Linked DNA regions of Homo sapiens: region 1 is linked to region 2. The links are contacts of gene promoters, found by promoter capture Hi-C in human tissues and cell types (Jung and others, 2019). All regions are on one chromosome and are shown on one strand. Each heading gives the region's core, a stretch centred on a gene start or on the middle of the fragment in contact. The rest is flanking DNA. Distances are from core to core; before and after follow the strand shown. Region 1 overlaps PCBP3 (poly(rC) binding protein 3). Region 2 holds the start of SLC19A1 (solute carrier family 19 member 1).

Region 1 (2,952 bases), core at 226-2,725, 130 kb before region 2:
ATAGCACTCCCAAGGCCTAGCCAGATGGAGGGACAGAGAAAGGAGGCCTGGAGGACAACAGACCAGTTTCTCCTGCCCCCACTCCCAGAATAGAAGGTGAAAGAATCAGACACGCCACACTGACCATGATGAATGAAGACAAAAACAAGATTGTGTCAAAATCCCTCTCCCCACTGACATAAGTGATGACTGTTTCTTTACCAATCACAGCTTTAACCTCACTCCAGTCTAACCTCCTTGTAGATAAGATTTACAGACACTCATCAAAAAATTGTCCCCACTTACTGATACCATCCCACTTTCTTGAACCCTCCCCCAAATCACCTAACCAAAGCCCAAATCCTGTAACAGGTTCTTTCTAACGCCCTCTTACCACAACACCCCATGGTTCCCAGGTGAGTGTCTAGTGGCCTTTGCTTAGAAAACATTGATAGATGCCTTCATAATACTTGCCCATGGGATGTTGCTCTAACTGTGGACCAAGAACTGATGTTTATCTTCCATTCTCCCCTTCCAAAATGGAAGTTTTAAAAATTGCAATTGGCTTGGTTTGGCTCCACTATTGTACAGTGTGAACAGCAGACAACCTGTGTGTCAGTTCAGTCATCAAACGACAAGAGCGACAACTGGATTTGATAAAGACCACACAATGCTAGAAATCCATCCTTTGTGCAAGACACAGTAACTGGGGCAACTCTGGATTGTGTCCCTGGAGAGATGAGTGCATGACAGTCGTGAAAGAAGGGTGTGCCAAGGCGAAGGACTGAGGCAGATAACTAACTGTTCATAAAGAACTGTGCTCCCCTTTCCCAGGACAGCATTGAAACTGGGAAGCAACTGTCAACCACAAACAACACACTGCAGATTTCATGCCTGCATCTAGATAGAACCCCATCACTGGATCTTGCCAGTGGAAAGTATGAAGAGATACAGATCATGGTCCTCGTCACTTTTGGGCCAACATGGCTGAGAAGCATGTGTGCCTTCTCCATGTGTGCTCTCTCATCTGCCAGCTGGACTGACAGGAAGCTGGGCCTAGAGGATAAGGATGCCACCTCCGTAGCAGATGGCATGACCACCCACTGTGAGGAGCTGGGCCGAATCACCACACAGAGGAAACCTGATCACTGATGAGGTACATCCACAGTGAACTGTTACATGAGCAAGAAGTAAATTTTACCATGTAAGGCCCTGAAATTTGTGGGATTGAAAGTTAACCAAAATATCCAAAAATTGGGGGGAAGAGATACAGAGTAAAAGCATGAATCAGATACTGAGAAACCACCCCTCAATTTGCACTGGAACCACAAAGGGCTAACCCCTCAAGGTAAAGAATAAGTCCTCAGAAGCAAGTCAGCCCTCCCAAGCACTGAGCCTTTGTTCTACTCATCCGGTTGTCCTTAAGACTACACTGGATTAAGCTTGCTCCTTTAAGAACCTTAGCAGTACCTGATGAAAACCTCTCTAAAAACAATAATCATCCCAAATTATTTCAAATTATTCCTCAAAATATTCTGCAAATACAAATGTCTAGTAGCCTAAAAGAAATTAGTGACCCATTGAGGAAGAAAGAGTAGAAATCACAGAAAACAAAAACATATCTACAAAGACAAGAAGTTGGAATTACCCAACATAGTCTATTTTAACAACTACACTTGTATAATAACAAAAACCCAAACAACCCAATTAAAAATCTGGCAAATGACCTGAATAGACATTTCTCTCAATAACACATACTACTGGGCAATAAGCACAAGAAAAAATGGTCAACATTACTAATCATTAGAGAAAAGCAAATCAAAACTACAAAGAGATGTCACCTCATACCCATTAGAATAGCTATTATCAAAATAATAATAAGTGTTGGTTAGGATGTGGAGAAGCTGGAACCCTTGTGCATTGCTGGTAGAAATGTAAAATGCGGAGCTGCTATGAAAACAATACAGTCATTCCTCAAAAAGTTAAGAAAAGTATTAGCATATGATCTAGTAATTCCATTTCTAGGTATAGGCACAAATTAAGTAAAAGCAAGGGACTCAAATATTTGTATACCCAAGTTCATGGCAGCATTATTCACTATAGCCAAAAGGTAGATGCAACCCAAGTGTCCATCAAAGAATGAATAAACAAAATGTGATATATATATATATATATATATATATATATATATATATATACACACACACACACACACAATGGAATATTATTCAGTCTTAAAAAGGGAAGAAATTCCAACACATGCTACAACATGGATGAACCCTGAAGACAGTACGCTACATTAAATAAGCCAGTCACAAAAGGAAAAATATTTATGACTTCACTTATATGAAGTATCTATAGTAGTCAAATTCATAGAAACAGAAAGTAGAATGGTAGTTGCCAGGGGTTTGGGAGAGGGAGTTATTGTTTAATGTGTAAAGAGTTTCAGTTTTGCAAGATGAAAAGAGTATTGGAGATGGATGGTTGCACAACAACATGAATGTACTTAATGTCACAGAATTGTACACATAAAATGTACTCTTTAAAATGGCAAATTTTATGTTATATATGTTTAACTAAAATTTTAAAACTATAGTTGCTATAGTTAAAAACAGAAACAATAAATTAGAAGCTACAAAAAGTAACAGTTTCAATTTTTTTTAATCTAAAACTGAAAAGTTATAAAGTCATGAATGGGTTTTAAAGCAGATTGAGTGCTGCTGAAGAAAGAATTGGTGAACTGGAAACTAGGTCAAAATAAAATAAAATATTCAAAGTAAAGTGGAGTGGCCAAAATCCAGAAATATAAGAGAGAGCATGAGAATATATGGTGAGAAATCTAACACAAATTTAATCAGAGTCCCAGAAAGAAAGAAAAGAGATGATGCAGAAGCAATAGCTGAAGAAAATGGCAGTGAATTTTCCAGACTTATGAAAGACATCATGTCATAGATACAAGAAGCCAACATACCT
Region 2 (3,001 bases), core at 315-2,814:
TCCCCACTTCCCCTCGGCTTCCTGGCCTGTCCTGCGTGTAAAGGGAGCAGGCTGCCCTGGCGAGCTGGCCCCATGGCTGGCTCCTCTCTGCCTGGAGGGAAGGAAGGGCCCCTCCTCCTCCGCGTTGCCCCTCCTGTCTTCCAGCAGGGCCAGGTTCTGCCCACCCGTGGAGAAGGCCAGTACAGGGGAGAGAGCCAGGGCTCCCACAAAGCAGGGGGTCCCTCCAGGTGAGGCGCTCCATCCTGTAGTGTTCCCTTAAATTCTGCAAGCTACCCCAGATCCCCCATTTCCAGCCAACAAATCCTTTTTAAGTTCCTTTGAGATTTGTTCGTGTGGCTTGCTACACTCAGGACTCTGGAAAGAAGGCCCAGGCCAGAGCTTTGGGCAGGCGGCCATTTAGGGCAAGGGCCCTGTGTTGGCTTCCTGGTGGGGTTGCCCTGCTGGTGGGCGGGAGACCAAGAGCACCCCCGCAACACCAGGAGGCAGGTCGCGGATTGTGCTGTCTACACTCCGGAAGGGGTACATTCCAGGGGCTGCTGCCCCAGACTCACCCCTCGCCTGGGACCCGCACTCTTGAGCTGTGGGTACCACGGTGGCCGTCCCCTTCTGTTCTGTGCAGTGGACTTCCTGGCTCCTCCTTAGCCTTGGGGCCCCCACAGCCCTCGGCTTGGCTTCCCTCCCCATAGCCAGGCCCTGGGTAACTCCAGGGGAAAGTGACCCTGAGGCCCCCCACTTCTCCCCGTGTCCTGCACAGGCCTTGGGCTTTCGGCGGTGCTGTCTGCCGCAGCCCCACGCCTTCCTGGGAGAGTGGCCCAGGCCCCCCTTCCTGAGTGTGACTGCGCTGCCGTCTGCGAGGCCTGCGCGGGTCTCCCCCGGGCTGTCCCTGCTGGGATGGGGACTGGTGGCCCCGGGCCACGTCCTGGATCCGGCTTGCTCCTTGGTACAAGCCCGTACGGGTCACGGTCAGGCAGGAGGGCGGGCGGCGGGGTCCCGGGGGCGCCGAGTTCGGGGCCGTGCGGTCCCCAAGAGCAGGCTGTGCGTGTCCCTGTTGGAGCCCCACGAAGGCGGCCCAGGGCCACCCCTGAGGGCGCGTGGGCCCGACCCGCGTCCCGGATCCAGCTTGCGGCCAGGAATGCAGGTGTTCCAGGGTGCCAAAAGGAAAACGCACAAGGCCTCGTCGAGGAGGGGGGGTCAGGAGGGGACCGGGGGTGGGAAGAACGCGGGGGAGAGGGATGGCAGGGTGCCCGCCCGAGGGACCGACACCTCCGCGAGTGGCACCCCAGGATGCTGACGCCGGCGGGGGTGGGGGCCCGAGGGGCGGTCGGGGTCAGGGGGCGGCCCCAGGGGTAGGGCCGCAGCACGAGGGGCCGCGTGACCCCGGCGGTGACCGGGTGGGGAGAGGCCGGCGCCGGGGCTGGGAGACGGCCGTGGGTGGGAGGGTGCCCCGTGGGGACGCTCCTGCCGCAGCGCCCGGCCACGCGCGAGGCCCCGCCCTCAGGACGCGTTCGGCGGGACGGACCCGCCCACCCCGCAGCCGCGCGCCCGCCGCGCCGCCTTGTGGGCGCTGTAGTCCCGGAGTCCGCGTGCGCGGGGCCGGGTCCGGGAGCCCCAGGGCAGCCGCCCCGCCGAGTCGCAGGTACCGGTGGGGAACGGGGCCACGGGGCCGCGTGTCGGGGGCTGCGGGGTGTCTCGGGGCCCTGGGGTGAGTGCGGGGCGCGGGCCGAGGTTTGCAGGGCCCTGTGAGGTGAGTGTGGGGGCTGGCGCTGGGGTCCGCGGGGCCCTGGGGAGGGTGCGGGGCGTGGGCCGGGGTCTGCGGTCTGCAGCCTGGGGTCCGCGGGGCCCTGGGGAGGGTGCGGGGCGTGGGCCGGGGTCTGCGGTCTGCAGCCTGGGGTCTGGGGGGCCCTGGGGAGGGTGCGGGGCGTGGCCGGGGTCTGCGGTCTGCAGCCTGGGGTCTGGGGGGCCCTGGGGAGGGTGCGGGGCGTGGGCCGGGGTCTCCGCGGGGGTCGCGGTGGCCCGGGCGCCTGGCAGAACCGTTGCTGTGCAGCGGGTTTCCCGCCGCTCGCTTTCCGCCGCAGCCTGCGAATGGGGTGGGGAGTCCCGGCCCCCAGCCTGCCCTCCGCGTCATCCTGGGGCGCCAAGTCCCACCCCCGGGTCTGGAGGAAAGCGTGGATCCGGCGTTCGCGCCCAGGCACGTGTTGCTTCGGGACGGGCCAGCCGGTGGGTGAACCCTGCCAGCCACGCGTGGGGCGGGCCCCTGGCACATCTCCAGACCATTGTCTCCTGTGCCAGAAGCTTTGTAGGTGCAACTTCCCCTTGGAGCAGCTGTGGGTGCGGATCCAGCGGAGCAATCCCGAGGCGTCTCAGAGAGAGCCTGGACAGCCGCTGGAGCCTTTCCCGAGTGGGTCCTTCCAACACCGCTACAGCAGGAAAGCCATCCCCCTAGGGTCCTGTCCATCGGAAACTCCTGTCCTGGGGAGTCTGGCCTGCCTGGCCTCAGGACACAGGCCAACTAAGCTGGCCCCGAAATCCAGAATGCATCCAGAGGGAAGGTGGGATAAAGTCCTTGGAGGCGCCTGTTGGCCGCCCTGTAAAGAGGTGGCCTCCCCCTACGGAGACCCGAGGATCCCCGCACAGCCCAGATTCAATCAGCAGAGCCGAGGTGCCTCTGGCCCAGTGCACCTGCCTGCCCTGTCCAGGCCTGGGAGCCAGGCTGCATCTCACTGGCCGCCTTTGCCTGGGTGCCACCTGTGCACTGCTTGTTGCAATTGCTAATTGCTTTCTTTCCGAAGGGGCTTTGGTGGATTTTTATAATTCCAGATAGTACAGTTATCTCTGCTGGACACAGATGAGAAAGAGTGCTTCTCGGGTGTTTGGGCCTGCAGCAGTGATAGCCGGAGGGTCTAATTATGCTGTTAGGAACCCTGAACTTGGTCATCTGAACAGGGGTGGGAGGGTGTGCAATGCTTTCTTCTTCTTCTTTTTAAACTAGCAGGCGTTCTAA

The links. Contacts are between HindIII fragments. The study calls those that stand out against the background at their distance.
Region 1: a fragment that was not itself captured here is called in contact with the fragment with the promoter of SLC19A1 in region 2 in 2 of the 25 tissues and cell types used here (H1 embryonic stem cells and IMR-90 fibroblasts).

What each region holds. Positions count from the first base shown.
Region 1 is chr21:45,669,031-45,671,982 of GRCh38, reverse strand. All of the region lies in intron 2 of PCBP3 (poly(rC) binding protein 3), which reads right to left. Among named protein-coding and RNA genes, the nearest start is that of PCBP3, 27 kb to the right of the region's middle. The HindIII fragment of the contact is 6,647 bases long and covers 1-2,952 here.
Region 2 is chr21:45,541,003-45,544,003 of GRCh38, reverse strand. It overlaps SLC19A1 (solute carrier family 19 member 1), which reads left to right and starts at 1,564. Exons shown (of 6, transcript NM_194255.4): 1 at 1,564-1,636. RefSeq lists silencers at 1,291-1,370, 1,411-1,720, 2,071-2,130 and an enhancer at 924-1,436. The HindIII fragment of the contact is 13,138 bases long and covers 1-3,001 here.